Regions from separate parts of the Homo sapiens genome. Here region 2 is linked to region 1. The links are contacts of gene promoters, found by promoter capture Hi-C in human tissues and cell types (Jung and others, 2019). All regions are on one chromosome and are shown on one strand. The core of a region is centred on a gene start or on the middle of the fragment in contact, and the rest is flanking DNA. Distances in the headings are between cores, read along the strand shown. Region 1 holds the start of FTL (ferritin light chain). Region 2 holds the start of CYTH2 (cytohesin 2).

What was found. Contacts are between HindIII fragments. The study calls those that stand out against the background at their distance.
Region 2: the fragment with the promoter of CYTH2 here is called in contact with the fragment with the promoter of FTL in region 1 in 1 of the 25 tissues and cell types used here (dorsolateral prefrontal cortex).

Annotation. Positions count from the first base shown.
Region 1 is chr19:48,962,272-48,968,920 of GRCh38, forward strand. It overlaps FTL (ferritin light chain), which reads left to right and starts at 3,038. Exons shown (of 4, transcript NM_000146.4): 1 at 3,038-3,338; 2 at 3,499-3,645; 3 at 4,010-4,135; 4 at 4,312-4,608. The coding sequence starts at 3,237. The coding sequence ends at 4,464. It overlaps GYS1 (glycogen synthase 1), which reads right to left. Exons shown (of 16, transcript NM_002103.5): 16 at 5,859-6,649. RefSeq lists silencers at 1-97, 2,868-3,027, cis regulatory regions at 1-497, 1,437-1,937 and enhancers at 1,619-1,728, 3,278-3,327, 6,058-6,287. The HindIII fragment of the contact is 5,012 bases long and covers 96-5,107 here.
Region 2 is chr19:48,466,256-48,472,904 of GRCh38, forward strand. CYTH2 (cytohesin 2) reads left to right here and starts at 3,114. Exons shown (of 12, transcript NM_004228.7): 1 at 3,114-3,271; 2 at 4,098-4,245; 3 at 4,348-4,414; 4 at 6,070-6,188. The coding sequence starts at 3,253. LOC105372430 (a long non-coding RNA gene) reads right to left here and starts at 3,278. Exons shown (of 3, transcript NR_186576.1): 1 at 2,756-3,278; 2 at 314-352. KCNJ14 (potassium inwardly rectifying channel subfamily J member 14) reads left to right here. Exons shown (of 3, transcript NM_013348.4): 3 at 1-725. RefSeq lists enhancers at 2,215-2,715, 2,420-2,579, 2,773-3,766 and a silencer at 3,130-3,319. The HindIII fragment of the contact is 6,294 bases long and covers 1-5,003 here.

The DNA.
Region 1 (6,649 bases), core at 1,788-4,287:
CCGAGCTGGAGAATGGGAGTGGGGGGAGGAGGGATGGGAGGACCAGAGGAGCAGGAAGGGCTCTGGAGCCTGGTGGTGAGGTCGCTGGAGGGTGGCAGGCTGAGGACACCAGGGCGAGGGCCCACGGGAGAGGCCTCCTGAGCTGGGCTGAGGACAGAGAGGAAGGGACCTGGCTGGCGACTGAGAGGCTGGAGGGCAGGGCAGAGGAGGAGGAACCTGGTCTGGCCCCACAGCTGGGTGGGGCCCCCCTGGAGAGGAACTGCCGGAAGAAGGTGCTGAGCTCAGAGGCCCAGTGACCTTAGACACAGGCGGAGCGAAGACAAGGGGGCTAGAGGATGTGGGTTCTCAGTCACAGGGTCTCTGGCACCCCCCTCTGGGTCTTTACCCCCTCCCATCTCTGGGTCTCTGTCCCCATGCTCTGGGTCTTTGCTTTCCGAGCCTCTGTTCCCACCCCACCTTTGGCCCTCTTTCTCTGGGCCTCTTTCCACCCCTGGCACCCAGACCTCTGGCCCCCTCTCTCTGGGTCTCTGTCCCCCCCTCTGGATCTCTGGCCCCCCATCTCTCTCTGGGTCTGTCCCCCGACCCTGAGTTTCTGTCTCCCTCTCTCTGGGTCTCTGTCCTCTCTCTGGCTGTCACTCTCTCTTGGGTCTCTGTACCTCCCCTCTCTCTGGGTCTCTTTCCCTCTCCCCGGTCTCTGTCCCCCGCCCCCGGGTCCCTGTCCCCGCCCCCCCAGGTCTCAGTCCTCCCTAGTCTCTGTCCCCTTCTCTCTGAGTCCCTGTCCCCCCTCTCTCTGGGTCTCTGTACCCCCTTCTCTGGATCTCTGTCCCCACCTCTCTCTGGATCTCTGTCCCCCACTCTGGATTTCTGTCCCCTCCCGCCGGGTCCCTCTGGGTCTCTATCCCCCCCACCCCTGGGTCTCTGTACCTCCCTGCCTCTGTCCCCCCCCACCTCTGTCCCCCCCTCTCTCTGGGTCTCTTTTCCCCTCCCTCTGGGTCTCTGCCCTCCTCTCTCTAGGTCTGTCCCCCTCCCCTCTCTCTCAGGGTCTCTGTACCCCTCTGTCTCCGGGTCTGTTTTCCCCTCTCTCTGGGTCTCTGTCCCCCTCTCTCTCAGGGTCTCTGTCTGAGTCTCTTTTTCTCTGGGCCTCTGTCTCCCCACCCCACGTTCTCTATGGTCTTCAGATCCTGTCTCTCTCAGCCCCTCCTCTCCCTCCACCTATGGGCCCCAAGGCCCCTCTCGGCCGACTAAAGGTCTCTGGGCTGAGGTATGACATTTGGTAAATGAGTAACTCGGGCCCCACAGTCAACGGGGTGCTTTGGACGGCTGCCCCTCCTCCATGGACTCTTCCCAGAGACCCCAAGTCAGGGGAGAGAGAGGGGCAGAGGATCAATGAGTGTACACTGAGCCACCACCCAGAGTGAGGGGACAATATGGCCACAGGCAGGATCCCAGAAAAAAAAAAATTATGGGAACCAAAAAGACACGGAGACAAAGCACACAGCCGGCTTCCAACAAGGGGGGACCTTGGGGTAGGGGGCCCGATTTGGGTCTGAGCCAGGTCTAGTTCTGAGGGTCCCACCAAAAAAGTCGGGGAGTGCCAAGGGGATGAGGTCAGCGAGTGGCCCCACCCCCATCCGTCCCCGCGGGGGCCCCTTCCCGCGCTGAGCTCAGCATGACTCAGCAGTCGCTGCCTGCAACAAGGACCCCAGATACCGGCCTGGCGGGGCATCTGCAGATCCCCTCGGTCAGGGGCTGCCCCGCCTGGGCTGTTCGGAGCAGCTCCTCTGTAGGGCAGGGCCTGACCTCACCCCACACCCCAGTGGCTTCAGCTCCCTGCCCAGCGCACGGGCTGCCTCCATCAGGGCACTTAAGTAGAGTCAAGGTTTGCGCCGACTCCGTCTCCCAGAAATCAACGTGGACCAGGCCCACTTAAAAAATATGCATTAGTCGAAGACAGACGTCTCGTCCATAGGTCCCCAGACTGTTTGTCCACAACGCAGGGCTTCTCTTTGTGGGCCTGAAGGAGCACACGTCAGGCAAGACACGAGGGCAACTTCAGAGACACTGTTCAGGGCCACGGAGAATTCTCGAAGTCTGTGAGTTGTCTCCAAAACAGCCTCCAGGAAATGCAATCCCAGAGACACCGCAAAGCTCAAAACAGACTTTTCATTCCTCCCCATTTCCACTCCCAGAAAAAGCCTGGGCCCCTGAAAGAGCTCCAAGGTATCCCCAAAGTCCCAGCCCATCTTTGGAGGGTTCCAGAGGGCTGTCCAGGGTTCCAGAAGTCACCCTACCTCATACAATGCTCCTCCTGGGCTTCCCGCACTGGGTGAAACCCACGGCTCCAGAATAACTGCCCTTTCCAACTTGCAGAGCACCTCAAGAACCTAAAGATTTCCCCGGGGAGGGCTCCAAAATATAGAGAGTTTGCATCGTGAACCCCCACCCCTGTAAATCCCAGGACTCCAGTCCCCGCAACACTCCATCTTCCAGAGATCTCCAGGGGTCCAGAAATAACACCTCACAGCCTTCCAAGCTTCCCAAGGATCCGGAGACTCCTTATCTCGCAGCGCAAACCTCAGGCAACTACAGGTCCTCCCTGCACCTTTGAGGTGCCCCTCCCCCCACTCAAGGTTCCAGAAAAATCCATGCCCTCGGAAACCCCAGAATCTTACTTTCCCGAGGCACCCCAGGACCCCAGGGTCATCAGTTCACAGGGCTGTTAGTGCTCCCATAAAACTCTAGCCTCCCAGAGGGACCCCAGCCCCCACCCTCCCGCCCACGAACCCCTGCATTTCCAGAATCAGCCCCAGGGCCCCAACCCCCCCAAGCCCCCATTTCACAACACGCTGGCGCTACAGGCGCGTGACTTCCCCTTGCTTTGGGGCGGGGGGCTGAGACTCCTATGTGCTCCGGATTGGTCAGGCACGGCCTTCGGCCCCGCCTCCTGCCACCGCAGATTGGCCGCTAGCCCTCCCCGAGCGCCCTGCCTCCGAGGGCCGGCGCACCATAAAAGAAGCCGCCCTAGCCACGTCCCCTCGCAGTTCGGCGGTCCCGCGGGTCTGTCTCTTGCTTCAACAGTGTTTGGACGGAACAGATCCGGGGACTCTCTTCCAGCCTCCGACCGCCCTCCGATTTCCTCTCCGCTTGCAACCTCCGGGACCATCTTCTCGGCCATCTCCTGCTTCTGGGACCTGCCAGCACCGTTTTTGTGGTTAGCTCCTTCTTGCCAACCAACCATGAGCTCCCAGATTCGTCAGAATTATTCCACCGACGTGGAGGCAGCCGTCAACAGCCTGGTCAATTTGTACCTGCAGGCCTCCTACACCTACCTCTCTCTGGTGAGTCCCCAGGACGCCCCTGGCCCTAATTTCCTCCAGCTGCGCACCTCCGGCCCTCACTGCACGCGCCAGCCTTCTTTGTGCGGTCGGGTAAACAGAGGGCGGAGTCCCCTTGGCCTCGCCTCCCGCTAACCATTGTTGCCTCCATCTCTTCCCGTAGGGCTTCTATTTCGACCGCGATGATGTGGCTCTGGAAGGCGTGAGCCACTTCTTCCGCGAATTGGCCGAGGAGAAGCGCGAGGGCTACGAGCGTCTCCTGAAGATGCAAAACCAGCGTGGCGGCCGCGCTCTCTTCCAGGACATCAAGGTAACTAGTGTGTGGGTAATGGACTACATCTCCCAGCAGGCCGTGCGCGCGAGGAGCCTTGATTTGAGGGCGTAGGTGTCGCGTGGGCTTCTGGGAGATTGAGTTCGGTCTTGTGAGCCCTCTTAACCGCTGGAAATAGAGGCGCACCTCGTGCAGTGCCCACAACACGCGGCAGTCCACACCGCTGCGTGGTCTTAGGGACGTATAGCTGTAAGAGCTAGGACAGGGTGCGGAGAGTGATAAATACAAGCTGTCACATGTCTTTGTGGCCTGGGCCTCTGACCCCCAACGACTCTTGGGAAATGTAGGTTTAGTTCTATGTGCCGAGTGTGTGTATTCTGAGCCATTTCTCCCTTCTATATAGAAGCCAGCTGAAGATGAGTGGGGTAAAACCCCAGACGCCATGAAAGCTGCCATGGCCCTGGAGAAAAAGCTGAACCAGGCCCTTTTGGATCTTCATGCCCTGGGTTCTGCCCGCACGGACCCCCATGTACGTACCCGCTGCATCCATGGCTACCCAACCATACCCCTCAAGCCTCTGCTCCCTTTGGGCAAATTTCCTTCAGAGCCTCATTTCACACCTGTCACATTTTAATCTGCAACTGGCTGCTCTCTCCCCCTCTTTTCCAGGGATTGGGTTTCTAATTTCTCCCTCTTCTCTCTCAGCTCTGTGACTTCCTGGAGACTCACTTCCTAGATGAGGAAGTGAAGCTTATCAAGAAGATGGGTGACCACCTGACCAACCTCCACAGGCTGGGTGGCCCGGAGGCTGGGCTGGGCGAGTATCTCTTCGAAAGGCTCACTCTCAAGCACGACTAAGAGCCTTCTGAGCCCAGCGACTTCTGAAGGGCCCCTTGCAAAGTAATAGGGCTTCTGCCTAAGCCTCTCCCTCCAGCCAATAGGCAGCTTTCTTAACTATCCTAACAAGCCTTGGACCAAATGGAAATAAAGCTTTTTGATGCAGCTGGTGGTTTTGTGTGTGGTGTGGAAGATGAGGTGGGATCTGTTCTCATAAAGCTTCTGGCTGGGTTGGGATGCCAGTGAAAGAGGAGTTGGCCCCATCTCCCATTTTCTTAACTGTCCTAAGACAAGAGGCTATCTGGGTAGTGTTGAACCTGAGGGTTCTCTGCTTGCCTGGCTGTTAACTGTCCCTCCCAGATGGTAGAGATAGACTCCAGGGAGTTGAATTAAGACCTAGGTTGGTATCTAGAAACAGATGTTAGGTCTCAGCCAGAAACAGCCCTATTTAACGAGTGATTATGGGGCCAGGTGGGTCGCTCACCTGATGTCAGGAGTTCGAGACCAGCCTGACCAACATGAAGAAACCCCGTCTCTACTAAAATACAAAATTAGCTGGGTGTGGTGGCTCATACCTGTAATCCCAGCTAGTCAGGAGGTTGAGGTAGGAGAATCGCTTGAATCTGGGAGGCGGAGGTTGCAGTGAGCTGAGATGGCGTCATTGCACTCCAGCCTGGGCAAAAAGAGTGGAACTCCCATCTCAAACAAAAAACATGTCTGCCTCACGGAAGTTGCGGTGAGCTGAGATGGCGCCACTGTGCTCCAGCTTGGGCAACAGAGTAAGACTCTGTCTCAAAAAAGAAAAAAGCCTCAATTCTGGGAGGCAGTTGGAATTATTAGGCCCTTTATATGGGCACATTGACGCTATTGCTATGCAACTTGCATGGCAACCGGGGGGCTCACTGAGGTCTTTGCTCCAGAGTTTAAGAGATTATGGCCCGAGCTTGAGTGATCCCAATGTGAGGCGCACACTGAGAGGAACTGGCCAGTGGAGCTGAGCAGCCAGGAACACGTGATGCCCAAGCAATGCTGGACAAGGGGTTTAGGGTTCATCACAGAAATGGGATGTGAAACCTTGGGCCGGATTCTCCAAATGGGAACTGAAGAAGCTTAAAACAGGCCTTAAAAAGCACTTGCTGTGTCCAAGCTGCAAAACTGCTGTGTCAGCTCTGACTCTTCCCCTTCTCCTTCCCCTGGGTCTGGGGCAGGGTGGTTCAAGCCTGTAATCCCAGCACTTTGGGAGGCCAAGGCAGGACGATCACTTGAGCCCAGGAGGTTGAGACCAGCCTAAGCAACATAGGGAGACCCCCCAAGTCTCTCTAGAATAAGAGGATGAGCTCAGACCAGGGAAGGGGTGGTACTGGGGGGACGTCACAGCCAGGCCCACCAAGTGTCATGTCTGACCACACCTGGGATTCTTAAATATAGATGTATTTTTTTCATCTCATCTCCGGACACACTCCAATCACACCCCTCCTGCCCTCCCCTCTCAACTGCAAACCAAGCGGTGCAGACACAGCACAGCACACATGAGGGGCCCTCCCTTTCACCAAAGCTGAAGGCAGGGCACAGTTTGGGGATGGAAGAGCCTCGAGGTAAATGTGGGGGTTCTAGAACCCAGTGACCTCAGTTCTGGATCATGGGAAAGGGATCAGTATGCAGTAACGTGGTAAGGTTCCAGATCTAGAAGCCAGGACCTAGAACCTAGTGGTTTCACAGTGGGCAGAGCAGTTGGGAATAAGCCAGGTTAGGGGTGGGGGAAGACAGCCAGCTCTGTCCTCTGCAGGCGGATTCCCTGGAGGGAGATCTCAGATTTAGAAAGGAAGAGTAGGATCTGGTCCAGAAAGGGCCAGAAAGACAGGAAGGCATCTGGACTGAGACTGTGTGTCCTCCAGAAGGAATGAGCAGCCAAGTGGTTCTACCACCTCTTGCTTGGCCAAAGTGTAGGGGATGACAGGAGCCGGATGGAGGGATCCTCCAGGCAGAGCCTGGCTCTGACATGCCAGGGAGGGCTAGAACATCCCTCCCAGAGCCCCACTTCTGGAGTTGAAATGGAGGACCATCTGCTCTCAGTTACCTTCAAACTCTGAAAGTGCCCCGGCTCTGGACTTGATCGCCCCATTCGCAGGGACACCACGTGGTTTCCAGAACTTGGTGGCCCGCATGCCGGGCCTGAGCGTGGCCTGCTCTGTATGCTGTAGAATTT
Region 2 (6,649 bases), core at 1,864-4,363, 500 kb before region 1:
TTTTAGTAGAGACGGGGTTTCGCCATGTTGGCGAGGTTGGTCTTGAACTCCCGACCTCAGATGATCCACCTGCCTCGGTCTCCCAAAGTGCTGGGATTACGGGTGTGAGCCACCATGCCCAGCCGTGTGTCTGTTTCTTAAAGATATTATACATATGTATATTATATATATGTAATATAAATACAGATATCTATCTATTTTTTCCCTTGGTCCCTACAACAGGCTTAGAGATGGAGTGCTAGCTAATTGGAATGAGGTCCTTTTCAAGGACCCCAGAAGCTTTGCTCTAAATCCCAATGCTGCCCCAACTTACTGTGTCACTTTGGACTCCTCTTCATGTCAGTTTCCCCATCTGTAAAAACGGGATATTGGAACTTGAAGTTCTTCAGGGGCCTTTCCAGCAGGATGAGTCCTCACTACACCAAGGGTGGGATGGGCATTCGAGTCCTGGGGATTTCCCTCCTCTCCCCAGTGCTGGATCATACGGCCTTCCAGGAGACGCTGGGATGTAAGATACTCTTGGAGGCTGGCTCTGAACTCGGGTGTCTGAATCACAGGGCAAGGGTAGGCGTGGGCTGTGGCTAACAGCCAGAGTCACTTCCCTGGCCTAGCTTGGGGACCTGGGGAGGAGGAGGTAGCTCTGGACACCAGGGTTCTTCCCATTGTGGGAGAGTGAGTGTTTTAGGGGGAGACCTGTCCCCCAGATTAAAGAACTGGGAGCCCTAGCGGATGTGTCTGCGAATGTGTTTCTCGAGCATGGGTCCTCCGACCTGGCCCCCTGCCCATGCTACCATCTACCTAAGTGCCCCGCAGGCTGGGAGCCAACTGCAGAGGGAGCCAGTGACAGTGAGGAGGACGTGTTCCCACCCCGTGTTCTGGACCGAGGGCAGCCACTGTCATTGCCATTCAGCCTTCACAAGTGCTGCATCAACCCAAATGCCCCCTCCAGCTTCTCCATCTCCCTTTATCCCTCAGAATCCCCATGTAATAACCGGATGGGATTAATTAGCTGGCTGCTCTCTCAGCTCAGGGTGTCTGGGGTAGGTAGGGATGGGGGCAATGGAAACGCAGGGTTGGGGAAGGATGTTAAGTTGGAAGTGAAGGGGCAGGGAGGGGGTTTCGTTTGAAAGGAGTATGGGAGCAGGGCAGCCCAGCCTGGGTTTCCACTGGGGAGGGCAGGGCCTGGGCCACTCATAAAGGTCAGTGAGGGGATTAGGAGCCTCCATGTCTAATCCGACAGCTTAACTAGGTCCTGGCCCTGAATCCGTCTCCACCTGCCCAGCCCAGGGACAGCAAATGAGGACGAGGCCCAGACACCACTTCAGCCCCCATTACGGCTTCCCTCTTTACAGGGGTGCCTGGGTTCCCTATTCCAGCCAGTCCCTTGACCACATTCCGTTACAAATAATGGGACATAGAGGCTGGGGAAGGGGAAGGGGAAGGGGCCTCAGAGGAGGGAGGAGTTTAAGAAGGGCAAGGGTGGCTGGGCACGGTGGCTCACGCCTATGGGCACGGTGGCTCACGCCTAGCACTTTGGGAGGCTGAGGCGGGTGGATCACCTGAGGTCAGGAGTTTGAGACCAGCCTGGCCAACATGGCGAAACCCCGTCTCTACTAAAAATACAAAAATTAGCCGGGCATGGTGGTGGGCGCCTATAATCCCAGCTCCTTGGGAGGCTGAGGTAGGAGTATCGCGTCAACCTTGTGGGTGGAGGTTGCAGTGAGCTGAGATCATGCCAGTTCATTCCAGACTGGGCAAAAGAGCAAAACTCTGTCTCAAAAAAAAAAAAAAAAAAAAAAAGGGCAAGAGTATGAGAGGACAAGGGGGACCGTGACGTGAGGGGAGCCAGAGAGGAAAAAAGGCCTCTGAGATGGGAGAAGGAATCAGAGAGGTGGGAGGATGCTGAGGAAAGGGGAGTTGTCTTAGCAGGAGGATGCTTGGGGAAGGGAGGAGTCTTAGGAGGATGCTAAGCTAAAGGAAGGAGTTTGGAGAAATGAGGGAGGAGTCTGAGCGGCAGAAGGTGCCAGGAAGGCCGAGCCTGTGCTTTCACTAAATTTCACCTTCCCCTGTTCCATTCCCCATGACCGATACCAAATAGCATAGCATTTAGAAAAAAGTAAATCTTGGCCAGGCGCGGTGGCTCACGCCTGTAACCCCAGCACTTTGGAGGGCCAAGGTGGGCGGATCATGAGGTCAGGAGTTCGAGACCAGCTTGGCCAACATGGTGAAACGCCCGTCTCTATTAAAAATACAAAAAATAGCCAGGCATGCACCATCATGGTGCAACCCTGTAATCCCAGCTACTCGGGAGGCTGAGGCAGGAGAATTGCTTGAACCCGGGAGGCGGAGGTTGCAGTGAACCGAGATCGCGCAACTGCACTCCAGCTTGGGCGACAGAGCAAGACTCTGTCTCAAAAAAAAAAAAAAAAGAAAAAACGAAGAAGTCTTTTGTTTCACCACTCCACGACTCCGAAGAGGCTGAGGGGGATGGGGAGGGCATAGATGGTGATAAAGAAGGAGTTCGGCGGTAAGAAGGGGCTGAGAGGAGGGGAAATACGCGGAGAAGAAATGCAAAAGAAAAGGAGGCCTAAAGCCGCTCCCGGTTGCATGGCAACCTTTGCGGTCAGAAGCCAGCATGGCCTGCTAGGAGGTGTGGCTTACGGAAACAAGCCAGTTCTAGCCCCGCCTCCTAGCAACAAGACTAACAAAGTACCGCCCCCTAGCAACGTATTATCGGAGGCGGGGCTCGGTTTACCTAGACTCCAAGTGTCCAGGGCCTTTGAGCAGGCGCAGAGGTGGCTGTACCGCGTGGCTCCGCCTCCGCGCGACACTTTTCCGGGGCTTCTCATTGGAGAGCAAGCCTGTCAAGTGCTTTCTGTTGTTTCGGAGGCGGGGCCTGCTGCCCTGCCTGCACTCCGATTGGCCCCGCGGGCCGTCTACCTCTGGCCGGACATACCTACACCGGCTTTTTGTACGACTGTTGGCCCTGGAGAACGATCCTTTGGTGGCGAGGGCGGGGAGGACGAAAGCGCCCACTGTGGATTGGACAGTGTCAAAAAGAGGGGCGGTCCCTACTGAAGGGGCGGTTGGGCGACGAAGGGAAGAGTCTTTTCAGCGCTGAGGACTGGCGCTGAGGAGGCGGCGGTGGCTCCCGGGGCGTTTGAGCGGGCTCACCCGAGCCCGCGGGCCAACGCGGATCCAGGCCCGACTGGCGGGACCGCCCCGGATTCCCCGCGGGCCTTCCTAGCCGCCATGGAGGACGGCGTCTATGGTAGGTCGGGGAGGGGCGGGGTCGGCTGGGAGTTGCTGGAGCGTTTTCTCCTGAACGTTCCGCCGCGAACGTTTCCCCCTGGCGCGCGGCGCCCAGAAGCGTTCGGCTCAGTCGTAGACTTGTCGCGCCGCTTTTGTTGGGCGCTGGACGGGCTTCCGGCGGGGCCCGAAAGCCGGGCGTTCCAGGCCATTGTTTGGGCTGAGCCTGTTTCCGGTGGCGGCGGGAGGGGCGGGATGGAGTGGTGGAGGCGAGGCCGGGGCGGAACCATTCCCGCTGGAGGGGCGGGCGAGCCCAGCGCCTGCCGGGGCCGGGGAGGGGCGCTTGGGTTGCGGGGAGGGGAGAAATCTTGGGGGGCGGGGGCCTTCGATGTCCCGCCCCACCTTCCCAACTCTCCTGAGCTGTCATCAGTTCCCCCGGCTGTAGTGACTTTTCATGGACCCAGTAGTCCGGATAACCAGGTCCCCAGCTACCTCGCCAGTAATGGAGTCAGAAAACCAAGGCCTCAGTCCCCTTCCAAGTAATGGACCTAGAAGCCGAGGCCCCCAGCCCTTTCTTCCCTCAGATCTAAGAGCTCAGGCACCCATTCCCCTTCTCCCTCAGACTCAGGAATCCGGGCCCCAATTCCCCTTGTCCCCCAGGACTCAAGAGTTTAGAGCCCCAGCTCTTTCTCCTCTGCAGGGAGGAATCCAGGCCCCCAGCCCATTCTTCTGTGCAGACATAGGAAGCCCCTTACACATCCTCTCCCAGCTCTGTCCGCCCCCAGATTGCAGGAATTCAGGCTCACGGCCCCTAGCACTGACTTTTAAACCTTGACCCCGATCCCTAGAACCCCCAGACCTGACTCCGGAGGAGCGGATGGAGCTGGAGAACATCCGGCGGCGGAAGCAGGAGCTGCTGGTGGAGATTCAGCGCCTGCGGGAGGAGCTCAGTGAAGCCATGAGCGAGGTGGAGGGGCTGGAGGCCAATGAGGGCAGGTGAGGGCTGGGGCGGATGACCTAGGGGGCGTGGGGTTGGCTGAGGCCAGGGATGCCCAGGCATTGACCCTCCACCCCCAACCCTGCTCTCTGCTCCTGCAGTAAGACCTTGCAACGGAACCGGAAGATGGCAATGGGCAGGAAGAAGTTCAACATGGACCCCAAGAAGGTGCTTGGGGCCACAGGACTGGGATCAGCTGGGCAAACATCCAGGCAGGGGCTTCTGGCACCTCCGGGTTCCAGAAGCGTGATGGTGCCGGGTCTATTCTAGGTGGACAGACTTGGTCCTAATCCCTGGATTCAGATACTGGCTGTCCATTTGTTTTCTGAACACTGAACACTGACCAAGTGTTCCAGCCCTCCTGACTGTTTTGTCCCCTGCCTGGAAGGTCGTCTTCCACTTTCTACTTGTATGGGCGCATTTCTGGTCCCAAGATGAGCTCGAGTCTTGTAGGGGCTGTGGACAAAGTGACATGCACAAAGGAGAGTTGACCTCTCTCCCACAAAGGTGCCGTGACGGAGGAAGGTATCAGGGTAGTGGACCTCTGGAGGAGGCAGGCTGGTGGAGTCAGGGAGGGCTTCCTTGAGGAGGAGACATTCAGGTCGGGTTTGAAGGATGAGTAGGTGTTCACCAGGTGGAGGAAAGGCTTTTGTTCACCTACTCTTTGTGTGTGTGTGTGAGACAGAGTCTTGCTCTATCACCCAGGCTGGAGTGCAGCGATGTGATCTCGGCTCACTAACCTCCGCCTCCTGCGATTCTCCTGCCTCAGCCTCCCAAGTAGCTGGGCTTACAGGCTCCCACCACCATGCCCAGCTAATTTTTGTATTTTTAGTACAGATGGGGTTTCACCATGTTGGCCAGGCTGCTTCCAAACTCCTGACGTCAGGTGATCCGCCCGCCTCAGCCTCCCAAAGTGTTGGGATTACAGGCATGAGCCACCGTGCCTGGCCTGTTCACATACTCATTTAACACCCATTTTCTGAGGCCTCTCAAGAGTCTGATCCTGTGTAGGGCAATGCTGGGGACCCAAAGAAGAATTAGATGCTGCCTTGTGCTCAGAGAGCCCTTGGACACCGATACCACAGTTCACAGTGAGATAAAGCAGTAGTAGAGAGGTCTTCGTAGCACAGAGAGTGAGAGAAACCTCCAGTCTAGCCAGGGCTTCGAGTTCACAGCCCTTGAAGGACTGCGTCTGCTAACAGGTTGTCACGTTATTCTTTCCTGAAGCAATTGGAATTCTGTTCAGTCATTCAACAAACATTGATTGGCTGGGTTCGGTGGCTTATGCCTGTAATCCCAGTGCTTTGAGAGGCCGAGGAGGGAGGATTGCTTGAAGCCAGGAATTTGAGACCAGCCTGGGCAGCATAGTGATAACTCATCTCTAGAAAAAATATAAATAAATAAATTAGCCAGGTGTGTTGGGGCATGCCTATAGTCCCAGCTTCTGAGGAGGCCGAAGTGAGAGGATCCCTTGAGCCCAGCAGTTCGAAGCTGCAATGAGCTGTGATCACGCCACTGCACTCCAGTCTGCAATAGAGCGAGACCAGGTCTCAGAAAAAAGAGAAAATGTACTGAGCACCTGTGCCTTGCCAGACCCTGTTGTTGGTGCTGGAATTAACCAGGCAAAGGCAGAGAGGGTAGGCCATGAAGTGCAAAGGCCATGAGTTGGGAAGAATGCTATTTAAGACCTGTGAGAAGGCTGAAAATGAAACCTGGCCCTGGTCTGTTGAGGGTGGGGGTAGGTCTGGATGCTGAGGTTCCCAGGGAGGTGAGTGGGGTGGCTTTCTGGCCCTCAGCACTGAGACCTTGTCCCCACCCACCAGGGGATCCAGTTCTTGGTGGAGAATGAACTGCTGCAGAACACACCCGAGGAGATCGCCCGCTTCCTGTACAAGGGCGAGGGGCTGAACAAGACAGCCATCGGGGACTACCTGGGGGAGAGGTACGGTCACCACTCAGCTCCTGTGGGGCCCCTCCCTCCCACCCCCCAGACCCAGCTCCTGCCCTCACACTGGCAGCTCACAGGTGGAACAGCCCTGCAGCCTCCCCGCAGAGGGGCCCTGGCAGATCAGCCTTCTGACTGGACTGTGACAGAATGGACTGACATGGGCTAGGGGAGCCTGCGGCCAACCGAGAGCATCTGGGGATGTGGGGCCTTCTGGAATTACCTGGCAGTTGTGGGGAAGCATCCATTTATGTCTGAGAAGGGTAGAGAACATCTCTCAAGGATCATGGGAGCTTGAGAACCGTGGGTAGACCATGGCTGTGCATAGGCACTGGGTGGCCATCTGGGAGCTGTGGGGACCGCTGGGCCCTTGTGGGAGCTTAGGAGTTGTGGGGGTCATTTGGAAGCCTAGGGTGCACAGGACTGGACATCAGATGATTGGAGGCCATCTGTGGACG